Linked DNA regions of Homo sapiens: all the other regions are linked to region 1. The links are contacts of gene promoters, found by promoter capture Hi-C in blood cells and fetal thymus (Javierre and others, 2016). All regions are on one chromosome and are shown on one strand. Each heading gives the region's core, a stretch centred on a gene start or on the middle of the fragment in contact. The rest is flanking DNA. Distances are from core to core; before and after follow the strand shown. Region 1 holds the start of FOS (Fos proto-oncogene, AP-1 transcription factor subunit). Region 2 has its middle 40 kb from the start of FOS. Region 3 has its middle 45 kb from the start of LINC01220.

Region 1 (3,483 bases), core at 711-3,210:
GTCTCCTGTATACAGAGGGATAAAGGAAAGCATAAGACACAGTCTTACTCAAGGGCCCTTATGCTCAATCTCCAACTTTCCCCTTAAGTTTTAAAAAGGAGCAACCCACAGAGTACCTACCGCTTGGAGTGTATCAGTCAGCTCCCTCCTCCGGTTGCGGCATTTGGCTGCAGCCATCTTATTCCTTTCCCTTCGGATTCTCCTTTTCTCTTCTTCTTCTGGAGATAACTAGAATAATCACAAAAAAAGACCGACATTCAGTAAAAGTGTCTGCCATCACCTCCATTCACCCACCCCAGTAGAACTGGCTCCTGCAGCTTCCCTGCTTCCTGGCACCCCACTGTGAAACCATTTCTGACCTGCAGTTGCAGACTAGGTGTGACTTGCATTTAAAATAAGATCCTCAGCAAGAGAACAAAGAAGAGCCCAGTCTGAAAGCATGCGGTAAGAAACTTAGGGAAGAAACTATGAGAGTACTTCTTAGGGTGAGACTCAGAGTCTGAGTTGGGATGGAATGGGCTTGGAGCCAGGGCTCCCAGTTACGGATGTGCAGCCAGCCCCATCAGTGGCTTCATCCTCTGTACTGGGCTCCTGCATCTCCGGGGCTGCTTCCCACCCAGCCCCCACATTCCCAGGAAGAGTACGCTAGAGTTCCTCACCTGTTCCACCTTGCCCCTCCTGCCAATGCTCTGCGCTCGGCCTCCTGTCATGGTCTTCACAACGCCAGCCCTGGAGTAAGCCCCAGCGGAGGGGGCGGGGACTCCGAAAGGGTGAGGGGCTCTGGTCTGCGATGGGGCCACGGAGGAGACGAGGGCGGGCTGCACCAGCCACTGCAGGTCCGGACTGGTCGAGATGGCAGTGACCGTGGGAATGAAGTTGGCACTGGAGACGGCCAGGTCCGTGCAGAAGTCCTAGAACAAAACAGAAGGGGAAAGCCGACGTGAGCGAGCAGGTTCCGGACACAGGTGGGGCGAGTTCCCAGTGCCGCATGCAGCAGTGAAGAGAAACGATCCTGCCACGGACATTTCATCTTAAATGTCCCTCATCCTGGATGAAAGGTCTCCCCCTTTTCCTCCCAGGCATTCCGCAGCGCAGTGCCTGTCTCTTCCATCCTGCCGCTGCGTTCCCGTTATCCCTTCAGCATCACTTGCTTGAAAGGGGGTTTGTTATAAATATCCCTGACGTCTGCGCTGACGCAGGCGCCGCTCCGGAGTCTCCAGAATGAACTCGCTTTTTATCAATGAAACTGCCTTACACACCCGCCCGCTGCACCCTCCTCCCTCATCCCTCCTCCGTGCTCCAGGCTGCCGGGGGAGGGGGGATTGCCGCTTTCTGCCACCTCCCCGGAGAAGCCAGGCTCTAGTTAGCGAGTTTGTGCTTGGGACACGTCTGCTCCAGCTAATGTCAGAGATCCGTCCTGGAGTGCAGACCAGAGGTTGCTCAGAACGAACCTGCCTCCCGAAGGGGGAACCAATTCTTACTATGGCAAGCGTGCGTGCGCTCAGAGCAAGTCCCGAGCCCCCGAGCCGGCACCGCTCCGGCCACGGCAGCCTCCCTCCAGGCACAAGGGAGCCCCCTACTCATCTACTGGAGCGTCCCGCCCGGTGTCTCCTCCTCCGCGACCCCAAGCCCCCGGCCCCGCGGCGACGGGAAGCCAGCCTTACCTGCGCGTTGACAGGCGAGCCCATGCTGGAGAAGGAGTCTGCGGGTGAGTGGTAGTAAGAGAGGCTATCCCCGGCCGGGGACGCGCTGCTGCAGCGGGAGGATGACGCCTCGTAGTCTGCGTTGAAGCCCGAGAACATCATCGTGGCGGTTAGGCAAAGCCGGGCGAGGGGCCGAGGGGCGGAGACAGGTGGGCGCTGTGGAGCAGAGCTGGGTAGGAGCACGGTCACTGCTCGTTCGCTGCGCCGCGGCCGCCGGCTCAGTCTTGGCTTCTCAGATGCTCGCTGCAGATGCGGTTGGAGTACGAGGCGCCGCAGCCACTGCTTTTATAACAAGCGTTTTATGAATGAGTGTAAACGTCACGGGCTCAACCACGGTGGCGCCAGAGGGGTGGCGCGCGGGCCTGGGCGCTTCTGCGGCCGCCCGGCTGCGTCCCCAGCGCTCGCAGCTCCCTGCCCCCGCCTTGGCGCGTGTCCTAATCTCGTGAGCATTTCGCAGTTCCTGTCTCAGAGGTCTCGTGGGCCCCCCAAGATGAGGGGTTTCGGGGATGGCTCCCCCCAGGGCTACAGGGAAAGGCCGTGGAAACCTGCTGACGCAGATGTCCTAATATGGACATCCTGTGTAAGGGGGGAGGGATTGACGGGAACTGCTCGCGGGCTGCAGCCAACACCGAGGGTGCAGTGCGGGGGGAGGCGGGGGCCGCGGCTGGGGGAGGGGAGGCGGGAACGGCGCAGAATGAGAGAGAACATTCGCACCTGGTTCAATGCGGACCCTTGTTCCCGAGGTCGGGGGGGATGGGGCAGAGAGCGCCTTTTTACCCTTGTACGGAAACTGAAGACAGTTCTGAGGCTCAGAGATAGGAGAAACGGCATCGAGTACAGGACCCCGAGGACTTAAGCCTCGGCTCCCGAAGGAATGCGCCCCTACCCCCATCCCCAATTCTAGCCCTAATTCAGTGCAAAGCGTGGAAGCAGACCTTCATCCCCTAACCTCCAGCCCTCGGGCTCGAGCAATACTAGCACTGTTCCTGCGTTTGGAAGCAGAAAGTGGAGGATCCAAAATAAGAGAATACGATAACCTACTTTACGATACTGGGTACTTTATTTATTTATTTTTTTAAAGAAGACAGCGCATTTATTTATTTATTTTTCTCGGCCATGTGTGGGAATATTAAGGAAACTGTCAAATCCCTGAGACACCAGCAGATAAACACTGTGCAAAACCTACGTGCGAAGACATTTGAAGGGGGTGTCTGCCCGGTTCTGAGCTGGGCCCCAGGGGTAGGGAGTGCGAGGTGTGGTTATGTGGGCAGGGTGGTCAGTTCGGGATGACAAGGCGGGGTGTGCTTCCTGCGGGGAACTCAAATCTGCGCTGAGGGCTGGTTCGGTCCCGCCAGGAAGCTGTGCTTACGGGAGCCCGCAGCGGGTGATTTTCCAGCGCGGACTTGGAGGGTGGAGGACGGGGGCTGGAAGGACAGTGTCCAGCTGCGCCTGGGCGGAATACCTCGACTGCTGGGACCCCAGGAGCGGCTCCACGTCCTGGAACACGGGGCTTTGGGGAGGCAAGGTGCTCCAGAGTGTGCCACGCCCCCCAATCTCCTGCCCTGCTGCGTAGGACAGCCGGGGTCACGCTGCCGGGGCTCAGCCCCAGCGCGCTGGCCACCTCCAGGGCGCGAAGACGCATGTCCCCGCACAGCCCCGGTCTTCCCTTCTCCACTCTTCGGGCCCGGGGGTCGGGGCCCGCGGTGGGCACCTGGAGAGGGGCGAGGCAGGATGAGGCCGGCGGGCGGATAGTTCGGGGCGCGCGGGGAGCCGGACCGCA
Region 2 (3,181 bases), core at 384-2,883, 40 kb after region 1:
TGAAATGCAGTCTTGTCTTGTAGAACCCCAGGAAAGATTGCAGAGCATTCAAGCACTGCAGCAAGGGTGAGCAAAGATGGAGTAGAAAGGGACCTGATCCAGGTGTGGAGGAGTTAACACATCCTGCTTGAGTTGAGGCCTGAAAGAAGCTTTGGAATTTTTCAGGGGAAAAAAAGTGACAGGAAGGGCATTCTAGGCAGATGGAATGGTGCATGCTAACACACAGAGGATGGGAGAGTTCAGCACATTTAGCTTTAAGGTGCCAAGGACAGGATACCGTAGCTCATGCCCATAATCCCAGCAATTTGGGAGGGTGAGACGCATGGATCACTTGAGCCCAGGAGTTAAAGACCTGCCTGGGCAATATGGCAAAACCCCATCTCTACAAAAAAAAAAAAGTGGAAAAATTAGCCAGGCGTGGTGGCACATGCCTGTGGTCCCAGCTACTGGGGAAGCTAAAGTGGGAGGATGGGAGGATCCCTTGAACCCCGGAAGTCGAGGCTACAGTGAGTCGAGATCACGCACTGCATCCCAGCCTGGGTGACAGAGTGAGACATTGTATCCAAAAAAAAAAAAAAATGTGCCAAGGAGTGGAAGGAGGAGAGGGCTGGTGTGAAGGGTTGAGAGGATTGCAGTTTGAGCTGAGCCAGAGAAATAAGCAGGTCCCAGGTTGCAGAGGGCCTTGTCTACCTGGTAAAACATTTAGGTTTTCTCCAGAGAGAGAAATGAAGGGCCATGGAACAGGCTTACCCAGTGGGATCACAGGATTTGTGTTTTAGAAAGGACACAGACAGCATGATGGAGTGGCATTGGAAGGCAACAAGCAGACCACTAAAGAGCCAGAATGGTGAGCTCCTGCCCCCAGCCATGGTGGGGGGAGGACATGAGTAGCAAGATTCTGCCTAAATTAATTATTAATAAGCGACGCAGTGATTCATCTATACCTTCCCCATTCCTAGCTTCATTTCCCCATCCAGCCCCTAGGAGCCCTGACTTTGATTCTAGTCCGTTTCTGTTTCCTTCTTCCCTTAGCTGCCCTCTTCACTGGAATTCTCTAAGGTGCCTGTTCAGCCCTATGGAAACGGCTGCCAGATTCTTCTGTTTTCTTCATGGAAAGCTCCCAAGTTTTTCTCTCCAAAATCCCTTAGAAGTGCTTTGGCCAGTGGAAGAGAGGGGTCTTCAACGTCTTTCAAAGAACAGCTAAGAAATAGTGGCTCAGTGAAGTTGCTAGTTATGGGAACGCCACCTGCTGTGGGAGCTGCCAGTGACGGGAAGCCCAAATCAGCAAGATGAGCCCCAGCCGCAGGCCTCACATTCTGGCAGTCTCCACGAGCCAAGAGGTGTCCATGCCAAGTCCTCATTCCCATGGTGATGCCTTATGGGCTCCATCATGTTAGCCAGAATATACCCTGGGAGATTATACCTGGGAGACACGTAGCTCAACAAGTACGGAACATGTCTTCCCTGCTGGTATTGGGGGGACAGGATGAATATCTGTCTGATAAGCTCACTGAGATATGTTAGGCTTGTTCCCTGTGAATAATTTATATTTTGAGAAACCTAGTACTTTCAAATTCATACAATAATGAGCTGTGTTATATTAGGATTCTGTTGTATGTTCACCTATCAAAATTTATACCTTAAATACTCACACTCAATATGGGGAGATACAAAGATAATTTAGATATCATATATGATTAACTATAGAAAACACATATCTTTTTTTTTTTAAGAGACAGGGGTCTCACTATGTTGCCCAGGCTGGTGTCAAACTCCTGGGCTCATGCAATTCTCCTACCTCAGGTTCCCAACATGCTGGGATTACAGGTGTGGGTAACCATGCCTGGTCAGAAAACACATATCTTAACACAATACACGATAATCACAATAGCAGGAAACAAGTTTTGTTTTGTTTTGTTTTTTTAATCAGAAAGGCAACATTTCCAGGTGAAAATTTTCCTCAGTGATGTAGGAAATGCCATCTTCTGTCATCAGCCCATCTCTAAATTCTCACTCTCACATTTGTTCATGTAGCTGCTACTCCTAATTCCAGATGAAAAATTCCTGTCGTTCAAAGGCAGAGCCGTTTGTAATTTATGCAACCCCTGGGTTCCATCAAATGAAAAGAGTTACTGAAATAGAAGTTATTCTTATTGCCATGCCAACAGCAGACCCACAACCTCAGCTTACAAACACATTCTGTGCTAAAGCCCAAAGCACATACCCTCACGTGCCTCCATCAGAAAGATCTTTCCATTTCCTTCAAGAACAGACCTCCTTCACGTACAATATCCCTCCCAGTAGCATACGTAGGCCTCATTCCTCAGGGAGCTGGCAGGAACACACACACACACACACACACACACACACACACACACACACACTCCTCCAGCACACACCTCCTTTCTCATTTTCCAGAGACCCGGGGGTGTGTGTGTGTGAATGTCTGAACTGATGACATATTGTGACAGAGGACGCAAGACAGTGAGGCACAGCCTCAAAGCAATGCAGGTCACAGCAATAGGCTTTATATAACCCAGAGCCATGGAGAGACCCAAAATAGCAGCCTCCCTGCTGCTCAGTTAGTCTCCTCCATCAACCAGGGATAAAATTAGAGCAGGCGCTGACGTGCACCTGCGTCTGCACAGGGACTCCAGGGAGACAGTGAGAACAGGCTCGACACTCTGCCATCGGCCACGCAGACTGCCAGATTTTTCAGACCCAATCTGTTACCAGACAGAACTCTGTGTGTGTGTGTGTGTGTGTGTGTGTGTGTGTGGTACACACACGCACGGGTGTACATGTGAGCCATGTGGAGCCCTGCTCTGAGAACATTTCAAGGGAATGGCTGGGAAGTTTGGCGGCATGGGGCTTTGAGAAGAATGTTCCAGGTTTTTGGGGGAGGAAGTCAGTCCCCACACCAGTCCCCATTTTACTTCATAGTTCCTTCTCGCCGCCCTCCCTACCGCTTCTCTCTGGCCTGTGTGGGGTCAAGTTTGGCTGGGAAGTCCTTCCTCTAAGACCTCGTTCTGCAAAACAAACAACAAACTAAAACAAAATCCTGCTGTGTTTATTTCAATTCAACCAAACACACACAGTCTGGAGAGTAAAAGCTTGTGCCAAGAGGTCCAGAGGAGAGACAGGCTGGTGAATGTGGCCGACTGTTCTGCAGGCCCCGGGC
Region 3 (3,424 bases), core at 413-2,912, 60 kb before region 1:
TGGCCTCCTTGGGTTTTAAAAGTACATTGAGAAACAGGATGGTACCTAATGGCCCATGAAGGTCTCTCCTCGGCTGGCTGGCTTTCCCCATGTGCAACAAGAGATTTAGGAGATTCGTTTGTATATTTCCATCAAGAATTCTGGGAATCAGACCTGAAACTTACTATTTCCTTATCACTTGGGTAGACTGGGGAAAATAATGGTTATATTCAGAAAGCTCATGGACCCACACATACTGATCAGTCAATGGTTCCTTAACACTTAACTAGTGTTAAGGAAACAAGAGAAAGGGAGAAGACCTTTATCCTGAAAATATCACCTATGTCTTCAGGGCCAAGCCATTTACCTGGGCCTGCCTAGCATACTGTAGGTGTTCATCATGTACTTTTTGGGTGAGTGGGTTCGTGTTTATGTCTAGAATGTTTGCATCCTTCTACATTCTCAATTTCCTCAAGAACAGAAGCCATGTATCTGCTTGAGTCCCAGAGTAGTAGAAAGAATCCTGGGCCTGGATGTGCTTCTCATCAATCAGTTGAACATGTTCATCTTTATTTGCCTGATAAATTAAAAAATAGGAGAGAGGCAATCAAAGGCAGAACGGTGGCAAGTCTTACTACAAGTCTATAGGGCTCTTTGTTTACCTCTAGGAAACCCTGGCTTCATCCAAGCAATCTCTCTCCATTATTATGCAAAATCAAGAAAATAATAATAGTAACATTCCTGCCAGAAATTCCAGGGCAACGCTGTTTTAGGCATCTAGGTTGGAGATGGCAGATATTTGGCATGCTTGCAACTACCTGATATTCCGTGTTCCTGACAGACATCGTGAATCAATCATTCTAATCATCACTAATCACTAATCATCACTATTCTGCTGACCCTCAGAGTCTTTCTCAACATTGCATTCCAGGCAGCCACTACCAATCAACTAGAAATCACACATGCAAAGGATGTTATCTCTGCTGTAGTCCATGATGGCATGTGATACTTTCATATCCTAAACCAATCTGAAAATTCTCACAAATACTCTTGATAATAAGTATCACTGCAATTACAGAATTACAGATCTGAAAGAGACCTTAGAAATCATCAGCTTTAATCCAAAATGCAAGATGAGCCTGGAGCATCTCGTATGGCAGATAGGACACTGAAGTCCACAGAGGGTAACCAACTCGCCCTAATTCAGAGTGTTAGTTAATGTCATTAGCAGTCCCTTACATCTGTATAGTGCTTTAGAGATGACAGTGTACTTTTAACTGAAGGACCTCATATGATTCTTTATTCATTCATCCAATAAATATTTATTGAATTCCTACTGTGTTCTATGTACTATGCTGGAGGTTAGGAAACCAGCAGTTAGAAGGAAGAAAGAAAAGAAAAAAAAGCTTTGATTCCTGTCTTACAGTTAAGCAAGGAGCCTTAAAATAACTCCATGACCTGAACAGGATAGACACTACTATCCTCAGCTTTGCAGATGCTAGAGGGTGACAATTAAGAGAGGACATGACACGCTTAAAAACGGCAGCTCTGGAATTCACAACATCCCTCAAGTCGCCACTTTTAGATGAGATCATTACTGTTGCAACATGTGGGAAGCAAATTTCCAGACCCATCAGGCATTTCTTAATTAGCTCTCTGACCACTTCAGAATGCTTAAGGTATGAAAGAACCTCTCTATTTAGGGAATGATGGCAAATTCTCCCGGCCCTGTAGAAACAATTTCAAAGGGTCTTTCTCTCCAAACCTGCAACCCCTTGACCTTGTAGCCCATGCAGTGTGGTGGGAAGAGCACAGATATGGGAGCACAGAGTTCTGAATCCTATTCCCACCCATGGCTCTAACCAACTAGTTCATCTTGGACAAGGTACATCACCTCTCTAGGCTTCAGTTTCCCCATCCATAAGGAAAGTGAGTTGAACCATGAGATCTCTAAGCTTCCTTCCCACTGACATCTGACAATTCTGCCTGACCAAAAAAGACAGAGCTTCCCAGCCGTACTTCACCTTCTCCTTTCACCAGACATTCTCTGCAACAGCTGGCTTTGCAGCCCAGACCCACCAAGAAAACAGCAACTCTAGGAAAGGTGGTATGGTCCAGCAAAGCCCAAAGTAGTTCTAATCATGATCCAGCTGATCATGTGACCTGAGACAACCAGTTCAACCTTCATATGTCATGGTTTCTTCTTCCCCCATCCAACAATGATATGATAAAAGAAACCAGATGTAGAAATGCTTTGGAAATATTAAGATGTGCCCATCAAGAAGGAAAAAAAAGAAGCTGACCTAAGTAACTTTGGAAAATGATGGGGTTTTTTTCTTTTTTATTTCACTGTCACAAACTTCACACACAATGGAAAATGATGTGTTTGACTGGAATCTGTAAAGCTAAAAAAATACTGTGCAAAAAGAACTCTGCAAAAACACTATACTCTAGTTGATAAATTTACTTTTCATAGGGAACTACATTGGTGATTCTGAAACTACTTCACATGTATACTAGGGTTGAACAAATATGTAAATAAATTATAGATAATGGGAGTCAGGTTTCTCACCATCAGAGAAAAAAGCAGCAGTGAGAAAAGGGAGAAGGTTAGAATGAAACCTGCAGGGTTGGATTCAAGTCAGAGATAATACAAATTCTTTCTTTTTTTTTCTTTTTTTGGGGACAGAGTTTCACTCTTGTTGCCCAGGCTACTGTGCAATGGCACGATCTTGGCTCACTGCAACTTCTGCCTCCTGGGTTCAAGTGATTCTCCTCCCCAGCCTCCCAAGTAGCTGGGACTACAGGCATGCACCACCACACTCAGCTAATTTTTTTATGTTTTTAGTAGAGACGGGGTTTCACCATGTTGATCAGGTCGGTCTCAAACTCCTGACACAGGTGATCCACCCACCTTGGCCTCCCAAAGCGCTGGGATTGCAGGTGTGAGCCACTGCGCCTGGCACAAACTCTTTTTAAAAGTATATATACAAATAGACAGATACACAAACATAGATATGCACATATTCATGGGTTAGCATACATACATATATACATAAATATATGTAAATATTCCTAACTGTTCACTGAGAGGGCCTAGAAGCAATGACACCCCAGTAGCAACGAGCACACCCAACACTCAGAAACATGGTTTCTAAATACCATTCTCTGATTAAAGGAACCAGGCTCCTTGGAGAAATAACTGATTCTAGGGCTAAAGCAGTGAAAACACAAGGTGAGTTTTGGAGCAGCTTGTAATGCCAGAAAGTAAGGAATTGGAAAAAAAATGGGGGCCCCAAAACTATGTACATCCATTATGCATCATTTTTTTTTTTTAATGTGGGCATGTCAAAAGGAACCAGGAGTTCCCAACGAGCAAGGCTGGAACAATTTAAGCAACAAACTAATGAAAGGATTGGATGATATAGAACCATGATGATTCTTA

The links. Contacts are between HindIII fragments. The CHiCAGO score rates a contact against its expected background, and 5 or more counts as called.
Region 2: a fragment that was not itself captured here is called in contact with the fragment with the promoter of FOS in region 1 in 6 of 17 cell types (monocytes, total CD8 T cells, naive CD8 T cells and 3 more); the score reaches 8.7 in monocytes.
Region 3: a fragment that was not itself captured here is called in contact with the fragment with the promoter of FOS in region 1 in 1 of 17 cell types (monocytes); the score reaches 6.0 in monocytes.

The regions. Positions count from the first base shown.
Region 1 is chr14:75,277,305-75,280,787 of GRCh38, reverse strand. It overlaps FOS (Fos proto-oncogene, AP-1 transcription factor subunit), which reads right to left and starts at 1,960. Exons shown (of 4, transcript NM_005252.4): 1 at 1,665-1,960; 2 at 660-911; 3 at 121-228; 4 at 1-5. The coding sequence starts at 1,805. RefSeq lists enhancers at 1-90, 117-1,042, 1,629-1,688, 1,043-1,970 and silencers at 2,059-2,118, 2,469-2,558, 3,287-3,483. The HindIII fragment of the contact is 6,704 bases long and covers 1-3,483 here.
Region 2 is chr14:75,237,041-75,240,221 of GRCh38, reverse strand. No RefSeq gene overlaps it. Among named protein-coding and RNA genes, the nearest start is that of FOS, 40 kb to the left of the region's middle. RefSeq lists an enhancer at 1,872-3,181. The HindIII fragment of the contact is 2,964 bases long and covers 152-3,115 here.
Region 3 is chr14:75,337,372-75,340,795 of GRCh38, reverse strand. No RefSeq gene overlaps it. Among named protein-coding and RNA genes, the nearest start is that of LINC01220, 45 kb to the right of the region's middle. The HindIII fragment of the contact is 549 bases long and covers 1,388-1,936 here.